Linked DNA regions of Homo sapiens: region 2 is linked to region 1. The links are contacts of gene promoters, found by promoter capture Hi-C in blood cells and fetal thymus (Javierre and others, 2016). All regions are on one chromosome and are shown on one strand. The core of a region is centred on a gene start or on the middle of the fragment in contact, and the rest is flanking DNA. Distances in the headings are between cores, read along the strand shown.

What was found. Contacts are between HindIII fragments. The CHiCAGO score rates a contact against its expected background, and 5 or more counts as called.
Region 2: a contact is called between a fragment that was not itself captured here and the fragment with the promoter of RAB32 in region 1, in 2 of 17 cell types (monocytes and M2 macrophages). The highest score is 11.6, in monocytes.

The regions. Positions count from the first base shown.
Region 1 is chr6:146,541,581-146,545,659 of GRCh38, forward strand. It overlaps RAB32 (RAB32, member RAS oncogene family), which reads left to right and starts at 2,253. Exons shown (of 3, transcript NM_006834.5): 1 at 2,253-2,541. The coding sequence starts at 2,292. RefSeq lists a silencer at 1,827-2,206. The HindIII fragment of the contact is 5,944 bases long and covers 1-3,114 here.
Region 2 is chr6:146,674,867-146,679,267 of GRCh38, forward strand. It overlaps ADGB (androglobin), which reads left to right. Exons shown (of 36, transcript NM_024694.4): 9 at 1,447-1,575. Among named protein-coding and RNA genes, the nearest start is that of ADGB, 78 kb to the left of the region's middle. The HindIII fragment of the contact is 6,306 bases long and covers 1-4,401 here.

The DNA.
Region 1 (4,079 bases), core at 1,003-3,502:
TTACATCTAATCCAAACACTACCAGATGAAGGTTGAAAAAGGATTGTTAGGGAAGTAAAGTAAGATGGCTTCAGAGTCCCTGTGTCTTCTTTCTCAAACTCCTTCCATAATTTAAATGCTAAAGCATGATAAGGTTTTTAATAGACTATTTTGTTGTGTGTGTGTGTATATATATATATATCTATATCTAAGGTATACGGCATGATGCTTTGATATACATAGTGAAATAGTTACTAGAGTTAAGCAAATTAACAAATTAACATGTCCATCATCTCACATAGTTACACAATTTTTTCTTTTCATTTTTTCTTTTCTTTTTTTTTTTTTTTTTTTTTGAGATGGTCTCACTCTGTCGCCCAGGTGGAATACAGTGGTGCGATTAAGCTCACTGAAGCCTGGACCTCCCAGGCTCAGGTAGTCGTCCCACCTCAGTCTTCTGGGTAGCTGGGACTACAGGTGGGTGCCACCACACCTGGCTGCAATTTTTTTTTAATGGTAACAGCACTTACAGTCTACTCTCTTAGCAAATTTCCAGTTTAAAATACAATATTATTAACTATAACGCTCATGCTACATTAGATCATTAGGACTCATTCATCCTATATAACTGCAACTTTGTACACTTTGACCTGCATCATTCCGTTTCTTCCCTGCCCCTGGTAACCACCACTGTTTCCACGTATTCCGTGTGTGTGTGTGTGTGTGTGTGTGTGTTTAAGATTCCACATATAAGTGATATTGCACAGTATCTTTCTTTTTGTGTCTGGCTTATTTCGCTTAGCATAATGTCCTCCAGGTTTATCCATGTTGTTGCAAATGTCAGGATCGCCTTCTAAAGGCTGAATGATATTCCATTGTGTGTGTGTGTGCGTCTGTGTATATGCGCGCGTGCATGCCTATGTATGTATTACAATTTCTTTATCCATTCATCGTTAACAGACACTTTGGTTGTTTCCAAATCTTCGCAACTGTGAATAATGCTGCATGAACTTGAGAGCGATTTCTGAGATCCTGATTTCATTTCCTTTGAGTATACACCCAGAAGAGGGATAGCTGGGTCACTGGCTTTAGCAACGATTTTTGCAATATCACACCAAAAGCCCAGGCAACCAAAGCAAACCTAGATAAATGGGACTTCATCCAACTAAAATGCTTCTGCACCGCATAGGAAATAATCAACAAAATGAAAAAACAGCCTATAGATTGGGAGAAAATATTTGTGAGCCATATATCTGATAAGGGGTTAATATCCAAAATACATTACGTTCACAGAACTCAGCCAAAATAAATAAATAAAACACCCAGTTAACTAACGGGCAAAGGATGTGAATGGACTTTTTTTTTTTTTCCAGAGGAAGTACAAATTGCCAACAGGTATAAGAAAAGGCGCTCAAAATCACTAATGAACAGGGAAAAGCCACTAGGTATCTCCTCACACCTGCTAGGATGACTGTTATAAAAAAGATAAGCGATAATAAGTGTCGGTGATGTGCGGAGCAAAGGGAACCTTGTACACTGGTGGTGGGAATGCGGACTGGAACAGCCATTATGGAAAACCCTACGGAGGTTCACTCAAAAAGTTAAAAACAGAACTACCAGCCCAGTGTTATCCGTCCTTCGTTAAGTTCAAAGTCACGGTGCCACTTCCTTTCCCATCTAAAGGGGACTGCTCGCGACCCAAGCCAAGGCCCGCAAGTGTGGCTCTCCCTGCGGGGAGAGTAGGGCAGGAGGTGGATTTCCAGGCCAGAGGCTTCCAGGCTGGGCCCGGACCCCACGCCGACCCCGGCCCCGGGGGGGGCTCAGCGACCTCGGCGCCTCCTCAGGCCCCCAGTGAACCTCCGGGGCCCATAAAGGCTCCAGGCCGGCTCCCCGGAGGCCCACCAGCGGGCGTCTGGGCCTCCCTCCGCGCCGCGACCGCCAGGAGGCGCCGCCCGGGAGAGGAAGTCCAGCTGGGCCCGGCCGGGCTTCGGAGGCGCCGCCCGGGAGAGGAAGTCCAGTTGGGCCCGGCCGGGCTTCAGAGGCGCAGGGCGGGAGCCGCCTCGCGCAGGGTCCTCCCCAAGCCGGCGCCAGGCCCTGCCCTCGTCCGGCCCTGCCCTCGTCTGGCCCCGCCCGGGCCGCGAGCACTGGCGGGTTCTGGGTCCTGTGACCGGTCAGGCGGCGTCAGCGGGCGCGGCGGAGGGCTGGCCGGCCTCGGGGGAGTTTCCGCGGCCGCCGGGGGCGCGGCGGCAGAGCGCGAGGCCGGGCAGGGGGCCAGACTCGGAGTCGAGGCGCGCCCGACAGCCGCAGCGCTCATGGCGGGCGGAGGAGCCGGGGACCCCGGCCTGGGGGCGGCCGCCGCCCCAGCGCCCGAGACCCGCGAGCACCTCTTCAAGGTGCTGGTGATCGGCGAGCTTGGCGTGGGCAAGACCAGCATCATCAAGCGCTACGTCCACCAGCTCTTCTCCCAGCACTACCGGGCCACCATCGGGGTGGACTTCGCCCTCAAGGTCCTCAACTGGGACAGCAGGACTCTGGTGCGCCTGCAGCTGTGGGACATCGCGGGTAAGCGCGGCCGCGAGTTTCCCACTCCAGAGCCCCGCCGGGCCGCCTGGCTCCTCTCTGCTTCTTTTCTTTTTCTTTTCTGCCTGAACTCGTCTGCCTGGGTACCTTTAGGAGAAGAGAGAGGCCCAATCCAAGGGCGAGATGCGATGGACGCGGTCGGCTGGACTCGGTGGGGCCCAGAGGATGGGATGGGCAGTAGGAGTTGGAGCAGGTCCTGCACGCCAGAGCTCGCTCTCCTGAAGGGAGGCGAGGAGGCCAGGGGGCCTTTTCCAGAAGTTTGAACTCTGAATAATGCAAGTATATCATACATACACCAGGACTAGTTGAGAAGGCTGCTTTGGAGCGGGCCGGCGCCTCTCAGCCTCAACTCAAGTTCAGAGGGATTGGGTGACTTAACCCGAAGCTGCACTCCTAGTTAGTGACACCACCAAGACCAAAAGCCAGGTTCCTTTCCAGATCATTTTCCACCACCCGCCTTGGCTCTGAGACTGGCCTTTGTGAGGGAAACTCCATTCCTCAAATACTTTGCTCTCATCGGAAGCCGAGGACAGACACTCCGTGAAGATTTGGGAAAGCTTTTCTGAAACCTTACACTCACCCCTTCCTCTCTTGCTAAACCAACACCTAGTCCCATCCCTGGTGCCCTCGCCCCCCCCCGCCCCCCCCCCACTCCTCAATACAGTGTTTCTCTGCCATTTGCTTTCATTTGTTCTGTTTGAGGGGGTACATTTCCCTCTGCTCTGATTTATGAACACTTGAACTTTGCCTGGTGTGGTGGTTGGGAGTGGGCGTTTTAAAGATGATGTTAACTATTGGAAAGTTCATAGAAATGGTACCAAGCCAAGTGCCAGTGGCTCACGCCTGTAATCCCAGCACTTTGGAAGGCCTAGACTGGAGGATCGCATGAGCACAGGAGTTCGAGACCAGCCTGGGCTGTTAGTGAGACCCTGTCTCTACAAAATACATACATACATATATACATACATACATACAAAAAATTAGACAAGTGTGGTCGTGCGTGCCTGTAGTCCCAGCTACTCAGGAGCCTGAGGCAGGAGGATCACTTGACCCTAGGAGAGGTCAAGGCTTCAGTGAGCTGTGTTCTCACTGCTGTACTCCAGCCTGGTCAACAGAGTGAGACCCTATCTCAGAAAAAAAAAAAAAAAGTACGAAAATTACTCTGTTCAATCATTACAGGTGTTAAGAAGCACAGTCTGCAGTACAGCATTAGAATGGGAGCTGGTTTAGGGTTAGAGGACACCTGAGGCCACCCTTCATTCTACAGTCCCTACACTGAAGCCCATGGAGGGTATAGCTACCTGGCTGGTAGCAGAGTGGTTGGGGGGATCACAGGTCTACTGTCTGTCTGCCAGGTAGTGCTCTTGTCATTTATAGCTTGTTACATAAGAAAGAGTAGTAAATAATTGTAACCTATAACTCATTCATTTAAGAGCACATTTCTGTCCCTCAGACAGGAGAATAACTGTATGCAACTCAGTTGCTCAGAAAAAAGGAGTAATCAGCCAGGGACTCAGCTT
Region 2 (4,401 bases), core at 1,291-3,790, 130 kb after region 1:
TTTGATTTTTTTCTATTTATAATTTTTATTATGTATTATTTTTAAGTCACAAATTCTGAATAGAAGTTTGAAAGCTCTTAAAGTCCTATTTGAAAATTATACATGCACTCAAATATTGCTTCCTAAAATTAGTTTTATTGAATTAAGGTAATATATATAGAAAATTCACAAATAAAATTTTGATAATAAACTTTTTAAAAACAGAAACTTCTTGGTTAAATGTTTTATCCTATGATTGAAGTTATAGTTATCTTTACTTTTATATCTAATTTAAGTGTTAAATCTGCTGAAAAAGCTAAGATATGGGCCGGGCATAGTTGCTCACACCTGTATTCCCAGCACTTTAAGAGGCTGATGCAGGCAGACCACTTGAGCTCAGGAGTTCAAGACCAGCCTGGACAACCTGGTGAAATCCTGTCTCTATAAAAAAGAAAAATAAAAAGAAAAGAAAAAGAAAAATTAGCAAGTTGTGGTGGTGCACACCTGTAGTCCCAGCTATTCAGGAGGCTGAAGTGGGAGAATTGCCTGAGCCTGGGAGGTCAATGCTGCAGTGAGCTGAGACCTCGCCACTGCACTCCAGCCTGGGTGGCAGAGTGAAAGCCTGTCAAAAAGAAAAAAAAAAGCTAAGGTATGAAACATGTCTATTTTGGATGTTCAGAAACATTATAAGTAGATAATGTCACAGTTTTTATTTACGAAAATTTTAAAGATGAGCAACCTGACCAATGATGATTACAAACTTAGCAGATGATGCAGAGAATGAAATGACAGAAATCTATAATTTCTGTCTCAGAATTGAGACAGATTTGTTAGGGAATTAAAAAAATCTTTGAGAAAAGTATTTTAGGTTGAAGAAGAATATGTTTTGTGGATTGAGTATATGAATGAGCATTCAAATGGTGGGAATCGTTCTGGATACAAGAGTTTTATTACCTAAGCCATGTAGGCAATAAGATGCTGGTTTGGGACTTTGGTTGGAATCTGGGCTCCACAAGAAAATATTTTGGAGTCAGAAAACTGTGTTTCCTGTAAGTGGAGGACCCAAATAAGGAAAATCTGAGAGGGCTCTACATTTAGGACTTAACTTTCAGCACAGGCTTTGCTGTGTTTTGTTTTTATTTTTAAAATGAGAAAATTACCTTGATACTATAATCTTATATAAATAAAATATATTCAAATAATTATCTCCATGAAACAAAATTATATACAGTAGATAAAAAGCAATGCTGTATTTATTTCATAATATATCTCAATTTTCAAAGTTCTCCCTGGCTTTATCATGGTGTTTCTAATTAGAGGGGATCATGTTTTGGAGAAATTATGGCATAATTTTACATTAAATAATACTATTATTTTGGCCTTTTTTCTTTAAGACAATGACTGAATAAGAAATATAGTTTGAGATTGTCTAGTTAAAATATTTATTGTGATTTTTTCATATGTTAGAGAAAGCAGATGCAAGAGACATTGGAAAGAAGAGAAGCAAAGATGGAGAAAAAGAAAAATTCAAATTCTCACTTCATGGTTCAAGACCCTCATCAGAAGTGCAGTACTCTGTGCAGTCCCTATCAGATTGTAAGCTCCTAATTTCTTAGAATAATAACTATTTTAGTTGTTTCTTAAAATGCTGGAAAACCTTGGAACATAGAAATACATTTTTTCTTTTGAAATAACTAAATAAACTTAGTCAAGGTTGCCATAAATGTTGGGTTCTCAGATGGGTGGGCGTGTTGGGCCAAGTCCTACCAATGACAGAAGCCTGTTGTCCAAATTACAGTGCAATTGTCACAGAAGAAGTATCCACATGTGGGAGAGGCTTCTGCTGGTCGCTTTCAGGTATTTCTCTAAAAAATACTCAGGTTGAATTTATCATCCAAATTAAGTAAATTCAAAGTTACTTGTTTGTGTGGTTAGATGCCAGCCACCAAATAAAACAAAAAGCCTACATCTGGCTCCTTGCTCACAGTGGGCCTCCAGCTCTTTTACTGTGTTTTAGAAAGTAACTGTGAGGCCGGAGACTCTGGAAGTCATTGTTTATATCACAATACTGACAACCACACTTTTTTGTGTATCGCATTGTGACTGGGTGGATGTACAAGAACTATTTATAATAGCCTCATTGTATAAAGGTCAACTATTTTTGTGAAAATGCTAGGGTTTCTCTATCACTTAAAATCACATTGGAGCTCTTTCATTTTAATTAATCTTTCCAATTTGGACTTACAAATTATTTCTAAAGACCCCTTGGCTACCGCATTTTTGTCCTGTGTACCAGCTAAAACAGTCTAGGTATAAGTAGCCTTTAAACAAATTGTATCAGGTTGAAAGAAAACAAGCTGTAAAAAAATGATACCGCAACCTATTCAGGAGGTTATCAGGAGGAAGACTAGAGTGTCTCTTTTGAGTCTCAGCTTTGGCTCATCTATCTTGGTGCTTCCAGAGTGCAGGTTATCATTTTCACCTCATCCTTTATTAGCTAGTCAAAAATATGTGTTTTTACATCTAGTAGTGTGCCTTATTAATAAATTTTTATCTTTTTTCTTATTATGATGATTTATATGAGGACATTTTAATAATTATGGCTTTTTATTTTTACTGAAACATGTCTAGTGATGTGGATAGAAAAAAGTCACTATTGTATTTTTAATTCTACATTAAAAATCATTTTCTTATATTGATGCCTTAAGCAATATTTTTTGATAGTGAGAAACATTACATTAGCAGATTTACTGATGGTTCTTCATCTTTGTGAAAATGGCTAAAACTTTCTGAGAGTTCTTTCTTTGTGAAAATAAAAGTAATGATGCCTTCCTTCTCCTGCTGAACTTACAGTTAAGGTCATTCCAACACATAGAATGTGGTTCAGTTTGGACTGTGGAGTCAAGCTGGTTGAGTTCAATATCTGCTCCAACACTGAGTGTATAAGTATCAGGCAAGTGATAGAGCCTCTTTAAACTCAGGATCTCTATAAATCAGCATTATTGTTTTGGTGAGGGTCCTTGTGAGAATCAAGTGTTGAATCCAGGTAAAGTGCTTAGCACTTGTTGGTAGAGCTACATTTTAGCATATTTATTGCAAAAGCCTTTGTTAATTCTTACATGTGCTAAAGATACAGTGTTAGAATGAACTCTATTGGAGTCCTTTATCTGGCATAAATATGAGGGTGGCCATGTGAACTTCCTTCTCCCACAGAGTTAAATCTAAGTGCATTTCTGATGGTGTTATAATTCATTTCCTTCAATCAGCTGCTTTGGTTTCACTTGTAAAGGAGATAATGGATAGACAGTAAGTGTTCAAGAGGTAATTGAGTGACAATTCAAACTCATATGGAAAATATAACATGACATTTATATTGTTTGTTTGTTTATTTGTTTATTTGACACAGAGTCTTGCTGTGTCGCCCAGGCTGGAGTGCAGTGGTGCAATCTCAGCTCACTGCAATCTCCACCTCCCAGGTTCAAGCGATTCTTGTGCCTCAACCTCCCAAGTAGCTGGGACTGCAGGCGCATGCCATTACACTTGGCTAATTCTTGTATTTTTAGTAGAGACAGAGCTTCATCATGTTGGCCAGACTGGTCTCAAACTCCTGACCTCAAGTGATCCACCCACCTTGGCCTCCCAAAGTGCTGGGACTATAGGCATGTGTCACCACGCTCTGTCTATATTGTTTATTGATGATTTGATATTAGAGGTGTTGTAGTTAATTCTGATAAGTCACTGAAAATCTAATATAAAGAACCCCTGTTTTATTAATTTTTTCAAAGTAGCATATTTATGACAACGGTCATTACAATAAAATGACGCTCACAGTTTTAAACGCCAAGGAGATTTAGTTTTATAATGGCAGAAGACATGTAGAGATTTATATATATTTACATGTCATCTAATATTATCCAATGCATATCCTAATAATGACTTGACATTTAAGATTTCATTTTGTTATTTTCAAAATAAGTGTATTCATTTAGGTACACTAGCTGGTATGACTAACAAATGATTCTAATGTCATATATATTTCTTTCTCAATTAAAATAAAAAGACTAGTGTTAATCACTGGCAGGAAGTTATTTTCTAAATGGCATTGAAGAGACCCATTCTCCTTCCATTTTATGCCTCTTCTACCTCTAGCATTCTAAAGTTCTATACCAGTGGGAAGAAAAGAGCTTGGAGGATTGCAGGAGCAAGATGTCTGAAATCAAAACAAGCTGTATTGTATATCACTTCTGGTCTCATTCTATTGAAGACAATTCAGTCCAATGGCCACACCTGACTTTAAGAGGAGTTGGAAATATGGAATGTGACGTGCTAAAGATCGCTCATTTCAGGAGAAAGAGGAAACCATTTGGTGAACAATGATCAATCTTTACCACATTCCACTTTCCTGATCACCAGATACCCCTT